5 separate regions of the Homo sapiens genome follow, and regions 2, 3, 4 and 5 are each linked to region 1. The links are contacts of gene promoters, found by promoter capture Hi-C in blood cells and fetal thymus (Javierre and others, 2016). All regions are on one chromosome and are shown on one strand. The core of a region is centred on a gene start or on the middle of the fragment in contact, and the rest is flanking DNA. Distances in the headings are between cores, read along the strand shown. Region 1 holds the start of P2RY2 (purinergic receptor P2Y2). Region 2 overlaps FCHSD2 (FCH and double SH3 domains 2). Region 3 overlaps FCHSD2 (FCH and double SH3 domains 2). Region 4 overlaps FCHSD2 (FCH and double SH3 domains 2). Region 5 overlaps FCHSD2 (FCH and double SH3 domains 2).

The links. The method cuts DNA at HindIII sites, captures the fragments that hold promoters and counts their contacts. A CHiCAGO score of 5 or more calls a contact.
Region 2: a contact is called between a fragment that was not itself captured here and the fragment with the promoter of P2RY2 in region 1, in 1 of 17 cell types (naive B cells). The highest score is 5.3, in naive B cells.
Region 3: a contact is called between a fragment that was not itself captured here and the fragment with the promoter of P2RY2 in region 1, in 1 of 17 cell types (total B cells). The highest score is 5.3, in total B cells.
Region 4: a fragment that was not itself captured here is called in contact with the fragment with the promoter of P2RY2 in region 1 in 1 of 17 cell types (M0 macrophages); the score reaches 5.1 in M0 macrophages.
Region 5: a contact is called between a fragment that was not itself captured here and the fragment with the promoter of P2RY2 in region 1, in 1 of 17 cell types (monocytes). The highest score is 5.8, in monocytes.

The regions. Positions count from the first base shown.
Region 1 is chr11:73,216,304-73,221,033 of GRCh38, forward strand. It overlaps P2RY2 (purinergic receptor P2Y2), which reads left to right and starts at 1,978. Exons shown (of 3, transcript NM_002564.4): 1 at 1,978-2,129. LOC124902709 (a long non-coding RNA gene) reads right to left here and starts at 1,890. Exons shown (of 3, transcript XR_007062773.1): 1 at 1,724-1,890. RefSeq lists enhancers at 1,812-2,530, 2,531-3,249 and a silencer at 1,889-2,098. The HindIII fragment of the contact is 6,402 bases long and covers 1-4,467 here.
Region 2 is chr11:72,869,729-72,874,458 of GRCh38, forward strand. The region is part of intron 12 of FCHSD2 (FCH and double SH3 domains 2); the gene reads right to left. Among named protein-coding and RNA genes, the nearest start is that of ATG16L2, 58 kb to the left of the region's middle. The HindIII fragment of the contact is 2,554 bases long and covers 1,591-4,144 here.
Region 3 is chr11:72,896,403-72,901,132 of GRCh38, forward strand. The region is part of intron 10 of FCHSD2 (FCH and double SH3 domains 2); the gene reads right to left. Among named protein-coding and RNA genes, the nearest start is that of ATG16L2, 84 kb to the left of the region's middle. The HindIII fragment of the contact is 2,491 bases long and covers 1,663-4,153 here.
Region 4 is chr11:72,915,171-72,919,900 of GRCh38, forward strand. All of the region lies in intron 9 of FCHSD2 (FCH and double SH3 domains 2), which reads right to left. Among named protein-coding and RNA genes, the nearest start is that of ATG16L2, 100 kb to the left of the region's middle. The HindIII fragment of the contact is 2,179 bases long and covers 1,606-3,784 here.
Region 5 is chr11:72,933,205-72,937,934 of GRCh38, forward strand. The region is part of intron 8 of FCHSD2 (FCH and double SH3 domains 2); the gene reads right to left. Among named protein-coding and RNA genes, the nearest start is that of ATG16L2, 120 kb to the left of the region's middle. The HindIII fragment of the contact is 1,737 bases long and covers 942-2,678 here.

The DNA.
Region 1 (4,730 bases), core at 728-3,227:
TTTAAGGATAGGGTGCAGGGGCTCATGCCTGGAATCCCAGCACTTTGGGAGGCCGAGGCAGGAGGACTGCTTGGACTCAGCAGTTTGAGACCAGCCTGGTCAACACAGGGAGATCCCATCTCTACAAAAAATTTACAAATTAGCCCGGCATGGTGGCATGTGCCTGTATTCCCAGCTACTTGGGAGGCTGAGATGGGAGGATCCCTTGGCCCTGGGACATAGAGACTGTAGTGTGCTGTGATCATGCCACTGCACTACGGCCTGGGTGACAGAGTGAGGCCCTTTCTCAAAAAATTTAAGACAGGCCAGCAAGTGAGAGATTAGTATTACTCCCTTTTGCAAAAGAGGAAACTCAGGCTCAGAGAGGAGTCATAGGACAGGTGAGGTAAGACTGGAATCTAAACCCAAGGCTATGGGGTTCAAGGACTAGGCCCCTTCCTCTGCTCCTCAAGCCTCACTAAGTCACCTGTGTGGTAGCTGAAACGCTGTATGTCTCAGGAATGCAGTTTCCTCAGCTGTAAAGTAAGGGAATTGGGCCAGAGCAGGGGCAGAGCCCTGGGCAGGCCACCAACCAGATTTGCCCGCTGAAGGCTAAGGTCGAGCCTGGGTCCTCAACTTGGCGTCAAAGAAACTTGTTTCTCCTGGGCTAAATGGCAGTGACAGTATAAGGTTTGAAGTTTTGGAAGAGGGGAGAGAAAGAGAGGGTTGGCTGGAGTTCCAGTGCCCAAAGGGTCTTCCCCACACTGGAACCTGAAGGCCTAGGCCCTATAACTCGGGCTATGAGGATACTTAGGTCCCTGGAAGGTGCGTGGCCCAGCTTAGACAATAGGCGCAGGAGGCTAGACAAGGGGCCTTTGTGTCTCCCAAGCAAAGGCCCCAGCAGGACTGCAGAGGCGGCTCAGCCACTATGGGCTGTGTGTCCACTCTGCTACTGCTCCTGGTGGGGCTGCAGCCAGCACCCTTCCTGGCAGCCAGGCCCAGTCAGCTGATATGGAGCCCAAGAGGGCCCAAGGCCCCGAAGGCCCGGGGCAAGTTCCTTGGCTACAGGAAGAGGCCTCCTCTGCACTTGTCCAGCCAGCGGAGCGATTGGCTCCATTTCACAGGAAAGAAGACCCTGCCAGGGAATGGAACTGGGTCAAGGTCTCCCAGAGTCAGTGCTGAAGCCAGACAGGAACCTACACTCCTGATTCCTAGACCAGAAATGAGAGAGAGGCGGGGTGCTCATTCATTCATCCATTCACACCTTCAAGGATTGAGCACCTCCCAGGACCTCTAGGACAGCAGCAGGAAGAAGGCAGACCTGGTTCCTGCCCTCGGGAGCTCACAGTCTCCGAACGGGTCAGACATGCAGCCGGTAGCCCGACCAGGGAAGGCCATTAGAGTGGGGTTGACGACAGAGAAGAGAGGTAAAGCAGCTCAAGATAAGGGGCCAGAGTGGGGAGTTCAGGGAGCTGCTGATAAGATTAAGGCAGGGAAAGTGGGGAGCACGGGAGAGGCGGGATCCTGAGTACCCTGCTTTCCTAACCACGGTAATGGAGAGAGGCACCCCCTTCCCCCACTTTCAAGCAAGGGAGGTACGTCCTTAGCCTGGGGTTCCGAGCAGGTATCTCCCAGTAGGTCCCTTCCTGGCCAGCCGGGCTGGGGCAGGGGCGGGACAGGGGTAGGGTGGCGCGGTGGCTGGGCGCAAAGGTCCCGCAGTGGGCCACGCAGGCACCGGGCTGACCTGGCAAAACTTTGGCGTCTCTGAAAACCTCTGGTAACCAGCTCCCTTCTAGCGTGAGGGAGCCGGGAGGCCTCCTTCTGGCCCGGCAGTGAGAGCGTCGCCGCCCGACCCTCCCGTTGCAGCACCGGTACAGACACGCTGACCCCGCGGCCTTGTCGCTGGGCGGCGTCCCGGAGCGGGTGGCGCGGTGTCTACCCGGGCGGGTTGAGGGCGGTGCCAGGGTCAGTCAAAAGTCCGCCCCGCCCCCTGCCTGGCCCGGCTTCGGGGTTGGGGAACAGCGCAGGGAGGTGGGTAGCCGGGCTCCCAGGCACGTGGGTCTCTGCGGCTGCGGCGGGACCCGGGCACTGGCACCCGGGAGCGGCGGCGACGGCACCCTGAGAGGAGAAGCGCAGCGCAGTGGCGAGAGGTGGGGTGGGGCGTCTGGAGGGAACAAGGCGCTGGGAGAGGCCCGGGGAAGCGGCGGGCCAGACTGGCGCAGGTGCGGACTGGGCGCGGGGCAGGGGAGGGCGCTGTGGAGCGGCTGTCGCCCCGGGGCACAGTTGCGAGCCGGCGTGTAGCGCATAACTGGACGGCTTGAACGCGCCTGTGGGTCCGTGGTTGAACTTTGTCTCCACGGGAGCGTCGGTCTCGGTGAGTGTGGACGGGCGCCCCAGTAGTGAGGCTGTGCGCGTCAGCGTACTGGGGAGGTCTGCGTGTTAGCGGGTGAGTGTGTGCGCCCCTCGGGGCGACTGGCCAAGCCTGCGGAACTTGTCTGTGTGTGCTCCGATGTGAGCGTCCCCGTGGCGTGAGGCGGTGGCCGGTGCCCAGAGACGCGAACCCCTGGAGACCCCCTACCACTGTCCTAACCCCAGGGTCACTCTGGGTGGCCACCTACCATTGGTAATGTTGAGGGGGCAGTTGCAGGGAGTGGGCGGGGGAGGAGGGAGTGGCCAGAAAGGACAGTTAAGCCTCTGTCCCCGGGCTTTTAATCTGGCAAATGGTGCGGTAGAAAGGGTCAGTCAGGAGAAAGGCGATACCCCACCCCCCAACCCGAAGGCTGCCAGTGGCCCTCTTGGGGTCCTCCAGGAGCGCAGCCCAAGGGTTGGGGACTGCTGGAGACCAGAATTGCCAGCTCGGGATTTGTGGGGTCCATGGCTGCTGTTCCTCTCAGCATGGCATCCCCAGCTTCCCAGGACCACAGCCTGATCTGCCTGGTTTGTTTTGGATCTAAGCTGAAATAATTATGAGTTTTGAGGATCTGGGTGGAGACCCAGGCAAGTTTATTACCTGTGGGTGGAAGTGGAAGGAAGAAGATTCTCTGAGCAGACAGGTCCACAAGAGAGCTCTGGAGACTCAGAGATCTATGTTCCAATCCTGTCTTGGCCACTGTGTGGCCTGGGCAAGCCGTCCTTTCTCTGAGCCTCAGTGGCCTCGTCTGTAAGAAGGGACTAATGATAAGGAATTTGAGGGCTGTTGAGGAGCTGATGAGTGTGTCATGTTCAGCACCAGTGTCCCCCCATGGGCAGGCTCACAGCTTGGGGATGGGAAGTCAGTCCCTGGAAGGAGCCTCCCAGAACCAGAATCCCAACTGTGCCCCTCCCTAGGGCACAAGCCTTCCACAGGACCAAGCCTGAACCCTGTAGCCTGGGACTTAAGGTATTTGATAACTGGGGCCTGCCAGCCTTTCCAGCCACCTCTCCCGCCTGACTCTTTACCTTGCAGCAGCTGCCTGGAGTCTCTCATTTCTTGCCCCTGGCCTGTTGCATATTCTACACTCCCTCTCTGATAAGCCCTCCTACTCTCACCTTCCTCAACTGGAGAACTACCCAGACTTGGGACCCAGCTCAGATGTCCTCTCCTCTGGAAAGCCTTCCTTGATCCCTACAGCTGGGTTGGAGCCTCTTCTAGGCCCCTACAGGCCTGGGGCTGACAGCCCTGGTCCCACCTGAACCGTCATGATCTATGTCTGTCTCCTCCTTTCCTCTTCCCAGGTCTAGGGGCTCCTGGAGGGCAGAAACTGGGTCTTATTATTTCTGTGTTGCCAGCACCCTGCACAGGGCTGAGCTGAACTGAGAGAGCAGCAGTGGCGCCCATCCCCTGTCTCTGGCACCAGCTTCTCCAGTAAAGGCCCGGCTGCAGGGGAGCTCCATGTCACTACAAAGAAGGGCAAACCAGAATCTGGTTATCAAAGTGGGTGGCACAGTTTGCCAGAACAGTGTGATCTGGGACACTGTAGGACCTAGAGTGCCCAGGCTAAAGACCTAGAGATTTTATCCTGAAGGCAATAGGGAGCCATGGAAATTTATGAGCAGAGGTGTTTCATGGTCAGAGCGGCATTTCAGAAAGCGCTCTCTGGCTGCAGGATGGAGAATGGATCAAGTATTGCCAAGTGCAGGGAGGTCAGGGCATTTGTGATGTCAACACTAGAACTGTCCCAGGAGTTGTTTGAACCCTAATTGAGCCCTTGCCCCTTGGCCAAACACTTTTCCCTGAGCCTTCAGATGCTCCTGCTGAGGAATTTGGGGACCTGCAATTGATCTCATCCCAGCTCTGTTCCCAGCTGGTTGAATGACCAGTTCCTGCCCTGCCAGGCTCTAAAAGGAGGCCAGAACAAGTAAGATCCTGCATGGGAGAGTATGTGTGTGGGGAGGCTCTGGCACAAAAGGCTTGTCGCTCTTTCTCCTCTTCTCCCTGCCTTGGGCTGTCTTGGAGTCTGGTCAGAGGGGTTGGGGATCCCAGTGGGCAACCCTCAGAAATGACTACCAAGCTTGGGCTGTGGAGTGAGGCTGTGACTCCTCTGTTTCTGTCTCCCTCCTGCCCTGGATGCATGGGGCTCTAAGGCTGTGGATCCCCCAAGGACCAGCTAAGAAGGTGTGAGGGTATCACCAGGGCCTCATGAGTGACCCCATGAGAGCTTTGACTTAATGGCTATAGTCTTTAGAGAGGCCATTGTCCCTCTCTAGGTGTCAGTTCTGCCATTTGTAAATTGAGAATGGTGATCCTTGCTTCTTTGAGAGCAGAGTTGCTA
Region 2 (4,730 bases), core at 1,618-4,117, 350 kb before region 1:
AAAGTCTGTTTCCTTTTCCTGTTCATAATGCTATGCCTCAGAACACCCTGAAATCCAGCATTTTCAGTAGCCTTCTAACCCATTTCCTGGACTTTTTCTCCTCTGTAATCCATCTTTTACAGTCTGTGAATGACCTCATCATGTTGCTCCCCAGTTTAAAAACTTTCATAACTCCTGACTGTCTACTGAGTAAAGAATTAACTAATTCTTAACTAGGAATAAAAAATATCTTTCACAGTTTGGCTGAGTTATTTCCTTCTACTGTTTCTTTCCACACCCCCCTATGCTCCCACCCCACTGTCCCACTTGCTGTTCCTCTGATCCATCATGTGCTTGCGTGCCTGTGTGCGTGCCAGTCCCTCTGTAAAGGCCTTCTCATTGCTTTTTGATGCCTGGTGAGTGCTTATCTTTTGACGGTCCGTTCAAATATTACCCTTTCCACAAAGATTTTTCTAAGTATTTCTCAACCTTCCTTAGGCAGTTAATAATTCCTTTTTCTCTGCTCCTAAAGCACTCTATATAGATCTAATTACAATGTGATAGGCACGAAATTATACTTAGCTATTTAACTAAGTATGCCTGTTTGATATAATTGGGGGCTCCTTTAAGACTCGAGCATTGACATTCAGCGTTATTCTCCTGTTATGTGTTCAGTAACCTTTTTTGAATAAATATCCTATATAACTGTGCTTCTACTTTTCCAAGAAAAGACTGAATAGGCTCTACCAATTCTTTCAAGATTGGCTCTACCAATCTTGAAAGACTGCCATTCAATGATATTGAGTTATAAACTACTGTGTCTCTTTAATAATAATAATTTTTAATATAAAAGAACTTCTCTCTAACAATTCTAACATTCTTCAGCACAAGCTTAAAGAATTCCCCCTTTGGGCCAGGTGCGGTGGCTCACGCCTGTAATCCCAGCACTTTGGGAAGCCGAGGGGGGCAGATCACGAGGTCAGGAGATCGATACCATCCTGGTTAACACAGTGAAACCCTGTCTCTACTAAAAATACAAAAAATTAGCTGGGCGTGGTGGCGGGTGCCTGTAGTCCCAGCTACTCGGGAGGCTGAGGCAGGAGAATGGCGTGAACCCAGGAGGCGGAGCTTTCAGTGAGCCGAGATTGCGCCACTGCACTACAGCCTGGGTGACAGTGCGAGACTCCGTCTCAAAAAAAAAAAAAAAAAAAAAAGAATTCCCCCTTTGACTTGGCTGCCTTTATTGACTAACTTGTTTGTTGACTAACAGTAATGTCTTTGCTTTTAAACTACATTTATGATGTGGCTGGCAGAAATAGCAGAGATTGAGAATAAAAAGTTCCTATTCTCCAAATTCAAGAAAGGGAATAACTGCTTATTCTTTAGCCCTTGTTCCATAAACCATAAACAAGTAACCACAGAACTAGTTTTAAACCCCTCCCGATCAGAAAGTAACTGCTGCTTTGCTCCAACAGCCATGCCTCTGAAAGTCAGCTAATCTGTGACAGCTTCTGCTTCTACTAGTCCTCCAAACTCTAAAAACCAAGGCTGAAAGTGAGCCAACCCCTTAAACATTCCTAGTTTTGAAAATCTGCCAATCCCTGACATTCAAGCTTCTCAAAACCCTATATATCAACTCTTGCTTTGTTCAGAGTCAATGTGTTTTGTGTCATTCTCTTTTGCTTAGCAAGTAAAACATTCAGCCTCTTTTGCTTAGCAAGTAATGCATTCAGCTTCATTGTTTCACATATGCAAGTGGTGATCTCTTCCTTAACATTTAAGGTTCCACTAAGCTAATTTTAGGTTAAGTAAGGTTCCACTTACTTAACCTAAGTAAAGTTCCACTCTCACTTGGTGGCTTTCTGTGGGACTCTTGGACAAACAAGTTGGAGCTGGTGCAGTGGCTTGTACCTGGAGTCCAAGCTACTCAGGAGACTGAGGAGGCAGGCTCACTTGAGTCCAGGAGTTTGAGGCTGCAGTGAGCTATGATCATGCCTGTGAATAGATAGCCACTGCACTCCAGTGACAAATACCTTTGGTACATAATTTTTTTTTTTTTTTTTTTTAGAGCCAGAGTGGTTGCTCTTTTGCCCAGGCTGCTCTTGAACTCCTGAGCTCAAGCAATCCTCCTATCTTGGCCTGCAAAAGTGTTGGGATTACAGGTGTGAACTGCTGTGCCCAACAGGTACATAATTTTGATTTCCCTCCGAATTCTCTGCTTGGGGAGTTGATATCAAAAACAATTTATGTTCTGACTTGTATCACTGGGCTTTCTTTGCTGAATTAATTTTTTTTATATTAACGTTTTTAAGCAAATAGATTTTTATAAAAATTGAGGTAAAACATTACATAAAATTTACTATCTGCACCATTTTAAAGTATACAATACAATGGTTTGGGGTATCATATACGTCTTTATATAAGACAATTGGAATTTTTGGCTTAGAGGCACTCCAATTGGTAAATACTCTTGCAAAAATCTGCTTATTCTTTTCATAATTTCTTTTTTTGGTAAAACTTTATTGACATATAGCTCAGGTGACAAAGACCTTTTGGCACACAACTTTTTTTTTCTTTTCTTTTTTTTTTTTTTTTTTAGAACCACACAATTCACTCATTTCAAGTCTGAAATTCAGTGGCTTACAGTATATTCATAGTACATGCAACCATCACCACAGTCAAATTTAGAATATTTTATCACCTCCAAAAGAAACCATGTACCATTTACCTATTGTTCTCCAGCCCCCTATTCCCTGCAGTCTTGACAATCACTATTCTACTTTCTGTCTATAAAGATTTGCCTATTCCAGACATTTAACACATATGAAACAATATAATACATGGTCTTTTATGACTAACTTCTCTCACTTTGCATAATATTTTCAAGATTCATCTATGTTGTAACATGTATCAGTATTTCATTTTTTTAATGGCCAAATAACATTCTATTGTATGGATATACATTAGAATGTTTATCCATTTGTCAGTTGGGAGTCATTTAGGTTGTTTCTATTTCTTGGCTATTATGAATAATATTGCTATAAACGTGTGTGTATAAATTTTAGTGTGGACATGTTTTCACTTCTTTTGGGTTTATATGTAGGGCTGGCATTGCTGGATCATGAAGTAATGCTAAGTTTAACCATCTGGGGAAATACTAGACTGTTTTTCAACGTGGCTTTATCATTTGATCCCACCAGTAGGGTGATGAGGGTTTCTCCACATCCTGGCAAATGCTTGTTAATGTCTGTCTTTTGACTCTAGCCATGCTAGTGGATATAAAGTGGTATCTTACTGTTGTTTGCATTTTCCTGGATAACTATTAATGTTACAAATCTTAGGCCAGGCACGGTGGCTCATGCCTATAATCCCAGCACTTCGGGAGGCTGAGGCGGGCAGATCACCAGGTCAGGAGTTTGAGACCAGCCTGGCCAACACAGTGAAACCCCATCTCTACTAAAAATACAAAAAATTAGCCGGACACGGTGGCGGGTGCCTGTAATCCCAGCTACTCAGGAGGCTGAGGCAGGAGAATCGCTTGAACCTGGGAGGTGGAGGCTGCAGTGAACCGAGATCGCGCCACTGCACTCCAGCCCAGGCAATGGTGTGAGACTCTGTTTCAAAAAAAAAAAAAAATGAATCTTTTCATGTGCTTATTTATGGGTCATTCATACATCTTCTTTGGAGAAATGTCTATTCAGACCCTTTTCCCATTTTTAAGTTGAGTATTTTTGCCTTTTTATTATTATGAGTTTTAATATATTCTAGAAGTAAGTTTCTATCAGATACATGATTTGCAAATATTTTCCCCCATTCTGTGGGCTGTCTTTCATTTTCTTGATAGTGTCATTTGAAACATGAAAGTTTTAAATTTTGATGATGTCTAATTTATCTAGTTTTTCTTTTGCTGCTTAGGCTTTGGTGTTATATCTAAGAAACTAATCCAAGGCCACAAAGACTTACCCCTGTGGTTTTTTTTGTAAGTTTATTAGCTTTCGCTGTTACATTTAGGTATTCATTTTGAGTTAGTTTGTATATATGATGTAAAGTGGGGTTGTTAAGATAATTAACTGGAAGGTCATTAAACTGAGGCAGCTCCAGCATCCCGGGTTCCTACGTAAGCAAACCAAAACTCAACTCAGTATAAATGGTAAAACAAAACTGAAGCTTAACCAATCAAAAACTGCCAACTACCTTCTAACTAGAAACCTTCCACTGGAATGATCCAAAAAAGGATACTACCGTGCCACTTTAACCAATCAAATATTTGCTTTGTTTTGCTTCTGAGTTCACCCTATAAAAGCATTCCTCTGGTGTTCCATTGGTGGAACCCTGAACTGCATATGATCTGGTGCTGCCCAAGTAATTATCACTATTTTCTCAAATAAAAAAAAATTTAATGTGCCTAAGTTTATCTTTTAACAGGGTCAAACTTCATTCTTTTGCATATGGATATCCACTTGCCCTAGCACCATTGTAGTATGCTTTTGCTTTTTTAAGAGACAGGGTCTCACTGTTGCCCAAGCTGGAATGCGGTGGTATGACAATAGCTCACTGCAGCCTCGAACTGCTGGGCTCAAGTGATCCTCCTACTGTAGCCTTCCCAGTAGCTAGGACTACAGGTGCATGCCACCATGCCTGGCTAATTTTTTAAAATTTTTTGTAGAGACAGCTGTCTCACTATGTTGCCTAGGCTGGTCTTGAACTTCTGGCTTCAAGTGATCCTCCTGCCTCAGCCTCCCAAAATGCTG
Region 3 (4,730 bases), core at 1,658-4,157, 320 kb before region 1:
TGTCCTTTTTCACAGGATGTGAGAAAATGCCCCTAATGGCACTCATCACTAGTTCTGGTAATGAAAGGATAGGTCACTGAGATGTACATAGGGCAGAGATGTTGAAAAGTACAAGTCATGTACTTAAAATTATTCCAAACAGATTGCCTTTCAGATGTACAAACTGCCAAGAAGGCCGTTGATGAGATCCTCTTTGTGGAATAAGTAGAACAAAAGTCCCAAGGGACTTTTAGTGATCAATCCAATAAGGGAGTTGAGAGCTAGGGATCATGACTGCAAAAGTATTGCAAGTATTTCAAGATTTGTAATGTCTTCTATATTTGATATTTGGTATTTCCTGTAGCAATTAGGGGGAAAATACTAAAAAAAAAAAAAAAAAAAAAAAAAAGAAAGAAATATGCTTGCCTTGTGGATTTTTGTTTTGTTTTGTTTTGTTTTGTTTGAGACAGAGTCTCACCCTGCCACCCAGGGTGGAGTGCAGTGGCGCGATCTCGGCTCACTGCAAGCCCCGCCTCCCAGGTTCACGCCATTCTCCTGCCTCAGCCTCCCGAGTAGCTGGGACTACAGGTGCCCGCCACCACGCCCGGCTAATTTTTTGTATTTTTAGTAGAGACAGGGTTTCACCATGTTAGCCAGGATGGTCTCAATCTCCTGACCTCATGATCCGCCCATCTCAGCTCTCAGCCTCCCAAAGTGCTGGGATTACAGGCGTGAGCCACCACGCCCGGCCGTCCTGTGGAAAGATTTTAAGAAGTCAGTTAACATCTATTCTGACTCAATGTGCCAGGCATTGAGTTAAATGCTTAGTATCCTATTTAATTTTCAAACAAATAAGGTATAGTTGTCCTTCCATATCTGTGGGTTCTGTATCTGTGGATTCAACCAACCGTGGATCAAAAATATTTTTTAAAAAGAGTAAAAAAAAAAAAAAAAAAGGATAGTTGTGTCTGTACTGAACATGTACAGACTTTTTTTCTTTGTCTTATTTCCTAAACAATGTAATAGGACCATTATTAGCATAGCATTTACATTGTATTAGGGATTATAATCTAGTGATGATTTACAATATATGAAGGATGTGCACAGGTTATATGCAAATATTACATCATTTTATATAGGGGACTTGAACATCTGTGAATTTTGGTACACAAAGAGGTTCCTAGAATCAATCCCCCATGGAAACCAAGGGACAACTGTTGTCATTTTACACATGAGGAAGCTGAATCACAAAAGTTAAATATATGTAAATAAACTGCTAGTTTAGACACCCAAACCCATGTTTTCTCCATTGTACACCACCTGTATGAATCACTAACCCCAGTGTGATCCATGTGTCAGCTGAATGACTCTAACATTGAGATCCTAATAAATGTGTTTGTCAGTTCTCTCTCACAGAATATTCTTATTATAGACAGGAAGATTTAAAGGCACATTCCATATCCTCCTCAGAAAAATTCTGCATTAAAAAGTCATTTCAGCAAAAAAGATGTATTTTACTTTTTCTAGAAAGAGCTCTGGCTTTCTGGTATCATCTGAGAAATGATAATTGAAGATATAAAGAAAGAACACTTTAGAAATCAGTAACTCTCTTATGGAAATATAGATAAGAAAATCCTTCAGTATTAACCATGAGACAGCTATTAAGTTACTACATAAGAACAAAGCTTGCCATTGGTCACTGTCACTTGTAGTCATCTTTTGGTTAATATTAAAATTCTACCCAAAAAAGCCCTAATTAAATTACTATAATAATACTGTGACTATACATATTCAATTGGGTGTCTTGGACTTTTGTAGGGAAAACAGTGTAGTTTGAAATGGGTTATATTAAAAAGTTAAAAAAATTTTAAGACAGTTTATGAAAATCATCAGAAGAGTTACATTTTATCACAGTGGTAACTTTAAAAGTCCTATAACTTTCCTAACTATATCTTACGTAAATTTAGATAAAATATTTGCTGAATTCTCTTGCCTGTAAGGCAAGGGCATATGCAAAGTATATGTAAGTGTCTGCTTAGTAAATGAAAAATAAATTTGTTAAACCCATAAGCAGTTCAAAATTCCTAATTCAAACTATAAAATTCAAAATAAAAGAACAATACTGTCCTGCCCCTGCAATGGATCTCATCCTATTACTATCTTACCTGAGTATATAGTTCTCCATTTACCATCATATATAAAACTCAAAAATAACACCTGGTTGCATCCCACTTTCATCATCAAGTCTACTTGCTATTTCAGGTATAGTCATGTACTTTCAAACTTTTCTGGCTCTAATGCTTATTAGCTGAGTGACCTTGAGCAAAGCAAATTGCTTTTCTTTCTATTTTTTTTTTTTTTTTTTAAAGACAGGGTCTTGCTCTGTCACCCAGGATGGAATGCAGTGGTGTGATCACGGCTCATTGCAACCTCCACCTCCCGGGCTCAAGTGATCCTCCCACTTCAGCTTCCTGAGTAGCAGGGACTACAGGTGTGTGCTACCATGCCCAGCTAGTTTTCTGTATTATTATTATTATTTTTTTTTTAGAGAAAGGGTTTCGCCGTGTTGCCCAGGCTGGTCTCGAACTCCTGGGCTCAAGCAATGCACCCACCTTGGCCTTCCAAAGTGTTGGGATTACAGGCGTAAGCCTCTGCACCCAGCCAGATTTCTTAACTTTAGTTTCCTCAACTGTAAAAGAAGGATTAAAAATAGCACCTACAATATAGGGTTGTTGTGAAGATAAAATAAATTAATATAGGTAATGCCATTAGAAAAATGTCTAGCACGAAATAAATGTTCAATGAATGTCACCTATTATTTTTATTCTTTTCAATTTTTGTTTTTGCTTCCTGGCATGTTGCTTCTCCCTCTTTGCAGAGTAAACTGCAACTCATCTTCAAGATCTAATTCATAACAAGTAGACACAATCCAATAAAAAAATAGAAACAAGGTTTGAATAGACATTTTACCAAAGAAGATATATGAGTGGCTAATACACTCATGAAGATACTCAACATCATTAGTCATTAGGGAAATGCAAACCAGAACCACGAGATACTATTTCATATCCACTAGGATGATTATAATCAGAGCCAGACAATAATACATGTCTGGCTGAGGCAGGAGGATCTTTTGAGCCCAGGAGTTCAAGGCCAGCCTAAGCAACATGGTGACATCCCCTCTCTACCAAAAATAAAAATAAAATAAAACAAAATAAAATAAAAATCAGCTGTAGTCCCAGTTACTCGGGAAGCTGAGGTGGAAGGACTGCTCGAGCCCAGGAGGTTGAGGCGCAGTGAGCCGTGATTATGCCATTGCACTTCAGTCTGGGTGACAGAGTAAGACCCTATCTTAAAAAAAAAAAAAAAAAAAAAAAGACTTTTTAAATGATTGAAGGTCTGGAATGATTTTTTAAAATCATAGGCATTTATCTTTTTCCATTATGAAAAAACTAATTGCTTCCCAAGTCCTGAACATTTCTTCTTAGAAGACAGAATAGCACAGCAGACATAACATTACTATTGCAATCACAACAGTAACATGTCATTAATTTACCGTATGACTCTGGACAAGTCTCCCTTACTAGGCTACAGTTTCCCCTTTAATAAAGACAAGATTAGCTCTAAGGTTCTCTCCAGCACACCTGTTGAAGAAGATTAAGGTGCTTCACACAAGATGAAAAATGAGTAGCTCAATTTCTTCACTATAAACAGGGAAGGAAATTCTTAATTTATAAGAGAAAACACAGCTGGTGCATCAGGGCCTCTTATACATGTATATACATAACTTTCATCCCAACACCAGGTCCCACCCTTCATTAACATGCAAACCCACACTTCCCATCCCTCCCGCCCTTGACCCACACCCCATATACCTCAGCTATGGTCATTCTCAGAGCACTGACAGGGGAGAGCTCAATATCCACCAGTTGGGCGGCTTTTAAACTCTGCCCAGTAAAGATTGCACAAGGACAAAAAACATAGCATAGAGTTAGAAATTTAAGGCAAACAAGGACACAACACCTAAGAACATTTAGCACAGTGTTTAGAAACAAAAGATTTAGGGCTGCAGTTGGGCTGGGAAAAAGTGAGATGAGAGTCACTGTTATTCTGATTTTTTCTGTGGAAAATAGCAATGATAAAATAACATCAAATTAGTCATAATTTTAAGACAAGCTTGACACACTTGTCTATACCCTGTATCTTCTAATGCTCTGCTTCATCCCTCCCAGGCTTCAAAGAAGTCAAATCACAGGAGAATGTGAATAAGTCATTGGCAAAAGCTGATTTGATTAAAAAAAAAAAGCACTACTATAAAGGGCAAAGGTTGTAATATAGAGGGAAATGCTGATTTCCTACATTTCTTTATATAGCTGCTAACAGAGCTACTTAAAGTATAAGAAAAGTAATGAAGATATCGCTGGCAAATGTGTTTCTATTAAACTGATACCATTAAACTCTGGAACTATATCATAAACTCCCTTGGTTCTGGTTCTAAATTTATCAAAATACTTTATGAATATAATTTGATTTTCCTTTTGGCTTGCCTACATTGACAGAATGTACTAATAATGCCAATGCGTGCCTTCTCATTTTGCAGAAGTTAAATTTCAATTTTTATGTTACCAAATTAGCATTTTTGTTCTTTTTTAAAAATTTAAATAATGGCAAACATTTCCCATAAACTCAAGGACGATTACTGTATGCTTTTAAACAATTGCCAATTGGGGCCGGACATCGTGGCTCACGTC
Region 4 (4,730 bases), core at 1,445-3,944, 300 kb before region 1:
AATGCAAATCAAAACCACCATGAGATACCATCTCACACCAATAAGAATGGTTATCAATAAAAAATTAAAAAAACAACGGATGCTGGCAAGGTTGTGGAGAAAAAGGAACACTTTTACACTGTTGGTAGGAGTGTAAATTAGTTCAACCATCGTGGAAGACAGGGTGGCAATTCCTCAAAGACCTAGAGACAGAAAAACCATTTGACCCAGCAATCCCGTTACTGAGTATAACCCCAAAGGAATATACATTGTTCTATTATAAAGACATATGCCTGCTTATGTTCATTGCAGCACCATTCACAATAGCAGAGACATGGAACAAACCTAAATGCCCACCAATGATAGACTGGATATAGAAAATGTGGTACATGGTCGGGCGTGGTGGCTCATGCCTGTAACCCCAGCACTTTGGCCAAGGTGGGTGGATCACCTGAGGTCAGGAGTTCAAAACCAGCCTGGCCAACAAGGCAAAACCCCAGCTCTACAAAAATACAAAAATTAGCCGGGCGCGGTGGTGGGCGCCTATAATCCCAGCTACTCGGGAGGCTGAGGCAGGAGAATCGCTTGAACCTGGGAGGCAGAGGTTGCAGTGAGCCGAGATCACGCCATTGCTCTCCAGCCTGGGTGACAGAGCAAGACTCTGCCTCAAAAACAAAAAACAAAAAGAAAAGAAAAGAAAATGTGGTACATATACACCACAGAACACTATGCAGCCATAAAAAAGAATGAGATCGTGTCCTTTGCAGGAACATGAATGGAGCTGGAGGCCACTATCCTTAGCAAACTAATGTAGGAACAGAAAAGCAAATACCACATGTTCTCATTTGTAAGTGGGAGCTAAATTATGAGAACACATGGGAACAACGCACACTAGGGCCTACCAGAGGGTAGAGGGTGGAGGGTGGGAGGAGGGAGAGAATCAGGAAAAATAACTAATGGGTACTAGGCTTAATACGTGGGTGATAAAATAATGTGTACCAAACCCTCCATGACACAAGTTTACCTACATAATCTGCACATCCTGCACATGTACCCCTGAAATTAAAATTAAAGGGAAAAAAAGGTTTATCAATTTTGTTAATCTTTTCAAAAAACTAGCTTTTAATTTCATTGACCTTTTGGTACACAACTTTTTTTTTTTTTTTTTTTTTTTTAAAGAGACAGGGTCTTGCTCTGTCACCCAGGCTACAGTACAGTAGTAGCATGATCATAGCCTGCTGCAGCTTCCAATTCCTGGGCTCAAGTAATCCTCCCACTTGGGCCTCCCGAGTAGTTGGGACAACAGGTATGCAGCACCATGTCTGGCTAATTTAAAAAATTTTTTTGTAGAGATAGGGTCTTGCTATGTTGCCTAGGCTGCTCTTGAACTCCTCAGCTCAAGCAATTCCCCCACCTTGGCCTTCCAAAGTATTGGGATTACAAGCGTGAGCCACTGTGCCCAGCCTCCTTTGTTCACTTTTATATTGGGTTGTCTCTGATGTTGAGTTGTAAGAGTTCTTTGTATATTCTGAATATGAAACTTTTATCAGATATGTGATGTGCAAATATTTTCTCTCATCATTTGGGTTGATTTCACATTCTTAATAATGTCCTTTGATGCACAAAAGCTTTTAATTTGATACAGTCTAATTATCTATGTTTTCTTTCGTTACTTGTGCTTTCAACGTCAAATCTGAGAATGCACTGCCAAATCAAGGTCATAAAGATCTATCTCTGTTTTCTCTTATAAGTTAGGTCATTGATCAATTTTGAGTTAATTTTGTGAGGTAAGGGTTCACAACTTCATTGAACTTCATTCTTTTTTTTTTTTTTTTTTTTTTTTTTTTTTTTTTGAAGCAGAGTGTTGCTCTGTCGCCCAGGCTGGAGTGCAGTGGTACGATCTCAGCTCACTGCAACCTCCACCTTTCGGGTTCAAGCGATTCTCCTGCCTCAGCCTCCCAAGCAGCTGGGACTACAGGCACCCACCACCACGCCCAGCCAATTTTTGTATTTTTAGTAGAGATGAGGTTTCACCATATTGGCCAGGCTGGTCTTGAACTCCTGATCTCATGATCCACCCATCTCGGCCTCTCAAAGTGTTGGGATTACAGGCGTGAGCCATCACACCTGGCTTGAACTTCATTCTTTTGCATGTGGCTATCCAGCTGTCCCAAAACCTTTTTCTGAAGAGAATATTCTTTCTCTATTGAATAGTCATGGCACCTTTGTTGCAAATCAATTGACCATAGATGTTCAGGTTTATTTCTGAACTCTCAATTCTGTTTCATTGGTCTATATGTCTATACTTATGTCCATACCACGCTATCTTTACTACTGTAACTTTATAGTAAGTTATGAAATTGGGAAGTGTGAGTCCTCCAACTTTATTTTTCCTTTTCAATATTGTTTAAACTATTCATGGTCCCTTGTAGTTCCATATTAATTCGAAGACTGGGCCGAGTGCAGTGGCTGACGCCTGTAATCCCAGCACTTTGGGAGGCCAAGGCAGGCGGATCACTTGACGTCAGGAGTTCAAGACTAGCCTGGCTAACATGACGAAACCCCGTCTTGACTAAAAATACAAACAAATTAGCCAGGCGTGGTGGCATATGCCTGTAATTCTAGCTACTTGGGATGCTGAGGCAGGAGAATCGCTTGAACCTGGGAGGTGGAGGTTGCAGTGAGCTGAGCTCATGCCATTGCACTCTAGCCTGGGTGACAGAGTGAGACCTTGTCTCAAATTAAAAAAAAAAAAAAATTGAGGACCGGCTTTTCCATTTCTGCAAAAAAGGCCATTGGAATTTTGATAGGGACTACATTGAATCTGTAGATCACTTTGGGGAATATTACAATATTAGCAACATGAAATCTCCCAATCCATGAACATTTATTATATGCATTTATTTATATCTTTTATTTCTTTCAGCAATGTTTTATAGTTTTCAGTGTACAGGCCTTTAACTCCTTTGGTTAAGTTTATTCCTAGATAGTTTATTCTCTGAGTATTATTGTAGTTGGAATTATTTTCTTAACCTTCTTTTTGGATCATTCATTGATGGAATATAGAGATGCAACTGATTTTTGTGTTTTTATCTTATATGTTGCTAAATTTATTAGCTCTATTAGTTTTTTTAATGGGCTCTCTGAGAGTTTATAAATATAATCATGTCATCTGCAAAGAGAGGTAATTTTAATTCTTCTTTTTCAATTTGGCTGCCTTTTATTTCTTTTTCTTACCGAATTGCCCTGTCTAGGACTTCCAGTACAATGGTTAATAGCGGTGGTGAAAATGGGTATCCTTGTTTTGTTCCTGATGTTAGCAGAGGAAGATTTCAGTCTTTCATTATTGAATATGACATTGGTTGATGCTATCATGTTATGTAAGTTCCCTTCTATTCTAGTTTGCTGAGTGTTTATCACAAAAAAGTACTGAATTTTGTCAAATCTTTTTCTGTGTCTATTGAAATGATCATGAAGTTTTTTCCTTCCTTTTATCTACTTTTTTTGGTTAGACTTCGAAGTATTAAGAACAGTAACACTAGACAAATTAATTTTCAAATAAATGTAGAATAACATTGTTATTTTCTGAATTCTTTTTTTAAATTTATTTTTCTGAATTCTTAAATGAACTTTGTTATTAATTGGAAGGCATTTCCTTATGGAGACAAAAAGCAAGCACACACAAACAAATTATAAAGGCCAGTAGAGCTACCTTCAGAGTTACTATCCTAGAGAAAATACCTATGACAACATCTGCTTCAGTTACATATACAAAGCATTTCATAAAATATTAAGAAGAAAAGCAAGCTTCATAAATAATTAAAGTTTAACAAAAGCTCCTAGGGCCATCTGTTTCCATTTAGGGGATGAATGATATAGGAAGCACTTTAACATTTACAGTATGTTGGATGAATTACCACCAAAATATCTTTGGGGATATGTCACATTTTGAACATGGTAATAATAATATAAAATAAAAAAAATCTAAAAAGTGTCAAACTTCCCTTTAGGTTGCTTTCAGCAGCATAGCAAGAGCAGCATAACAAGCTCTTCATAACAGAAAAACACATGGCATAAAACTTGTAGGCCTCTTCTGGTACTTGGAACAAAAGGGCACTACATTATTCTTATTAAATTTTTATTCCTACCACTTTCAATTTAAATGTAAGAGCATCTCATTTATTCCTCATTTCTGGGGAGTGAGATACTCATATGAGTGAATGCAGAAAATGAAAGCTTATCTCTTTATGTGTCCAAACTAGTTCATAAATTCTTAATTCATTTTCTATTAAAATAATACAAGCTAAAGAGAATATAGTAGAAGATCATGGAAAGCACTATGTGTGAGTGTGTAACCTCAGGCCAAGCCACATAAACTTCTGAGTCCAATTTCCTCCATATAAAATGAACATGGTAATGGCGACCTCATGGGATTCAAGATATATCCCATGCTAAAAGTCTTAAGAAATTGTTAAGTGTGTGTAAAATATTAGCTATCTGTTACGACTATAATGTTTCCTGTTTTATAAACTAAGGGTAGTGTCTCCAGTCCAACTTATTCTTGGAAAAAAACATTTCAAAGAATTTTGCTAGAAGATAACCTCTCTGATAAAATTAGAATAAATGTCGTTGGATTAAAAATACAATTTATAATAAAATTAGAATAAATGTCGTTGGATTAAAAATACAATTTATAATAAAATTAGAAATAAAAATGTCACCCTACCACATATTCCAACTGAATGGAAACT
Region 5 (4,730 bases), core at 560-3,059, 280 kb before region 1:
AGGTGGTCCCTTGACTTAAATTAGGTCATCCCTGGGATAGAGGCTGAAAGATTAATCCAAAAATGGCCTATCCTTCCCACCAAAGTTATTCTTCCTACCAAGCAGATAGTGCCTATCTGTAGTAGGAAAGAATTAAACCAACTCACAGAGAAAAGCAGTGATGAGAAATTTGGCAAAGTGAAGATGGGAATGGTGGGCAGAGGACAGGGACAGTGTCCTTGAATTGGGTAGTTCTTGAGCAAGCACCATCTCATCCTTTCTGTGATTTGGTTACCTTAGCCAACAAATTCCTCTGTTTTGCCTAAGCTACTTTGAGTTGGGTCATTGTTATTTGCAATCAAAAGACTTCTTACTAAAGAGTAATAAATGATACCCAACTTATATTAGCCATATCCAAATTGTGTCTTTTGGTTGCATTGTAAGGAAAAAAAGTTGATTCACATGGACAATAAATTGCAAGTAATAATAATTCAATTGCTTTCCTTACTATTCCTGGTTCTCTTCAATTAAACAGATCTCAAAGCTTAAAGTAGACAATTTTTATGTCAAAGCTGAATTGCAAATACAATCCAAAAGCTGCATATATTTCTTACAAATTTAAAGTAAAGTAAAAACTATTTAGTGCTGGGTACAGTGGCTCATGCCTGCAATTTCAACACTTTTGGAGGCTTAGGTGGGCGTATCACTTGAGCCCAGGAGTTCAAGACTAACTTGGGCAACACAGCAAGACTCCATCTCTACAAAGAATACAAAAATTAGCCAGGTGTGGTGGTATGTGGCTGTAGTCCCAGCTATTCAGGAGGCTGAGGTAGGAGGGCTGCCTGAGCCTGGGAGGTTGAGGCTGCAGTGAGCCATGATCGCGCCACTACACTCCAGCCTGGGCAACAGAGTAAGACACTGTCTCAGAAAAAAAAAAAAAAAAAAAAAAAAGAGCTATTTAAAGCTTACAACAAATCATAAAAGTATCATAACAGTTTGAGAAGGGCACGTATGATGAAGATGCATCTGTATCTTGTCTAGCATTTTACATTTAAATGAGCAAAACACAAGAATGTTCTTTACACTTGTTTAAGTGAACAGACATGCACAAACTTCAATTCAAAGAGACCTCTATGAAGAGCCATGCCTTTTTTTTTTTTTTTTTGAGACGGAGTCTTACTCTGTTGCCCAGGCTGGTGTGCAGCGGCACTATCTCGGCTCACTGCAACCTCCACCTCCTGGGTTCAAGAGATTCTTCTGGCTCAGCCTCCCGAGTAGCTGGGATTACAGGTGCATACCACCATACCCGGGTAATTTTTGTATTTATTAAAGTAGAGACAAGGTTTCACTATGTTGGCCAGGCTGATCTCAAACTCCTGACCTCAGGTAATCCACTTGCCTCGGCCTCCCAAAGTGCTGGGATCACAGGCATGAGCTGCTGTGCTTGGCCATAAATTTCTTAATCAATGATAGAATTCACTTATAAATGCTCAGAAATGGCAGGATAAGCATTCTTTCAAGGTTTATATAAATGTGAGTTAATCTGGCAGTATGAACTCCTTGGTGGTCTCCAATATGCAAAAACTTGGTAGGTAATTTATCCAAATATACTTAAAAAAATAGCCAAACTTTTTGACTATTGGACACAAATTTCTAAGGGAATAATTCTGTAGTAATTGAGAAACTGAGAAACCATGGGACCTTTGACCAGCAATATGTTTTAATGACTCCACAATATTTTTAAACAATTGAATTTGAATGCCTTTAAGCAGCCACGTCCTTTCCAGGTAGCTATTAGGCCACACACTCCCTTACACATTACCTCTGCCCTCTTTATTCATTTTATCTACTTGATCCTTAAAATCAGTTGAGTTTGGAACCTAAACTCCCAAACTCATAATGTTAAATACTCAAAATAGTGAAGAAAAAAAAAGGAATATTCTAAGGACAAATTCAGAAACTTAGAAATCTGGAATGCTCCACTGAACATTTACTTACAGGAAAGTGTAAATGTCCTAGAACTTGTTTGAAGAAGAAGATTATGATGAATTAGGAGGGAAAATGGGTCATTTTCCTAAGCATTTGATGTAATTTCCCCTAAAGTAAGAACTTTAAACAGTCCCCTCCTTATTTAGATCCAGGAGGGGCACAGATTCTTCAGCAATAAAGTTTTGCTGAAATCTCTTGAGTTTCCTTAATGCAGCCTAGAAAAACAAACTCTTCTTTTCTGAGAGCAACGGGCATTTCTAAAATAGACTTTGGTAAAAGTCAAGGATATAAATATCAAGATGATGATAAATGTGAGTTGTCTTAAAATTAAATCATGAAATTCTACAGTCTTTCTTTGCTGATACTGGAAGAAAACAGACTGCCTCCTTGCTTTTGTTTATCTTTTTCAGAAGACCCCAAGCTACGCCTAATCAGGTTACAAAGAGAAAGTAGCTTTTTACAAGAAATCAAAACAAGTACTGGGCTGTATTTACATTACTGTAAATATCTTAATATGTAGTTGAATTTATCAGTTGATATAAAGTAAAATCAGAAACATATCATCTAATTTTTTATGTGGTTGTTTTATTTAAAAGCACTGAGTTACTTCAGGTTACTTCATGTTCTGTGAAAGAGGAAACAAATAAGGAAGTTTATGTCTGTAAATTACAAAACCAGGAAAGGAAAATTTCAATGCTGTTTTTCTATAAAGCTTGTGTTATCCTCTTGCATTACTACTAGCATGCAAGATAAGTCAGATGTCTGAAAAAGGTCTGCTGTACTACTTATGCTCACCCAGTTGTGAGTGGGCTAAAACCACATAATATTTAGGTTGCCATCTCAAAACATCATGGGCAACAGAAAACCTTGAACCCTATATACTTTCATTCAAATCCCAGTTCTACCACTTACTAGCAACCATCACTCTGGGAAGACACTGACCGTTCTTGAGCTTTCCATTCCTTATCTGACAGAATCATAAGAGTATGGTATGTGTAAATGGTGGTTATTAAAATAATAGGGCTTAACCATTTCTATGTTCTACCAGAGAATTTCATCTATCTCCCTTGTAAGCCTATAGTAAGGAATTTTGGTGACAGACTGGGCTTCTGAGTCTGACTCTATTATGTACTTGAGCAGTAGAACTGCTCTAAGTCTGTTACCTTATCTATAAAATAATTTAAAAATAGTATCTCCTTAAGAGGTCTGTTAAATCAATATTTTCTATGTACCATTTTAATTCCCTTGTTTTTTTTACTATATATTTTGGCATGGTTGCCTGGGAATTATCAGTGTGATTTTATCAAACTCAAGAATCTCGACCAGGTGCCATGGCTCATGCCTGTACTCCCAGCACTTTGGAAGGCCAAGATGGGAGGCTTGCTTGAGGCCAGGAGTTGGAGACCAGCCTGGTCAACATAGCAAGACTCCATCTCTAATTTAGAAAAGAAATAAAAATTTTTAAAAAAGAATCTCAATTGACTGACCTTTAAATTCAGATTCTCCCTTCTGCCAACTTAACTTTGCTGCTGAACACTTATAGTATATCTTTACTTCAGTTATTGTATTTTTAACTCCAGAATTTATATTTGATTCCTTTTTATAATTTGTATCAAAGATGATATTCTTTATTTGCTGAGATATCATTCTCATACTTCCCTTCAGTTCTTCAGACATGGTTTCCTTTAGCTCTTTGAAATATATTAAAAATAGGCGATTTAAAATCTTTGTCTAGTAAGTCCAATGTATGGACTTCCTTGGAGACAGTTTCTCTTGCCTCCTTTTATCCCTGTGTATGGGCTATATATTCCTGTTTCTTTATATGCTTCATAATCTTGTTAAAAATTAAACATTTAAATAGCAGATTTCTGCTCATCAACCCTACCATCCAATAGCAAAGAGGAGTTCTTCCTTAGCTGTGGTCCTGATGAGGAACAGAATATGAACACAATTATATAGCTGGAGGAAGACAGAGCTAGAGGACCAAAGGCTTGATGAAGGAACTCTTAAGGCTTTTGGGGAAACTAAAACAGAAGTTTAGATATTTAGGTATCTAAATCAGAAAAACGTATAGATTAGACAGTAAATAGGACTGCTGCAAACAAAAAAATTCTTGGCATTTCAGTTTAGTCTGAGAATTTTGCTATATTCATCTTTTGGCCATGTTATTTAAATAGTCTCTTTTGTGTGCATTTTTGACATCAAAGTATTGAACTGACAGAAAGCATTTAGCAAGAAATATAAAGCCTTAGTGTTAATTCAGTAAACAATATCTCTGATGCTGGCCAATTTGAGTATTCCTTACATTGACATTTTAGGAAAGAGTTAATAAACATGTCATGGACATATGGGACCATTAATGGAAAGGCAAGGTCTGATCTCTAGATGTTTCCATCTCCTGACCTCATGATCTGCCTGCCTCGGCCTCCCAAAGTGCTGGGAATATAGGCGTGAGCCACCGCGCCTGGCCAAAATATTTTTTTAGAACCTACTCTGTGCCAAGAACTATGCTTAGCATTAACTCTGTGTTTGTATATGTGCTTTTGAATACATAACCATGAGAACCTGGGCAAGCATTGGAAACAAACAAACAGGATAATTTCAATTATACAGGGTGCTAGAAGAGAGGCACCTAGACAAACATGAGGTTTAAAAATGATTTTCTATAGGAAATCATGTCTGAGTGCACCCAGTTATTATGCTAGGCACCATGGGAAATACAGAACATAAGATCAAATATGTGAAACAAAGACTGATGTAGC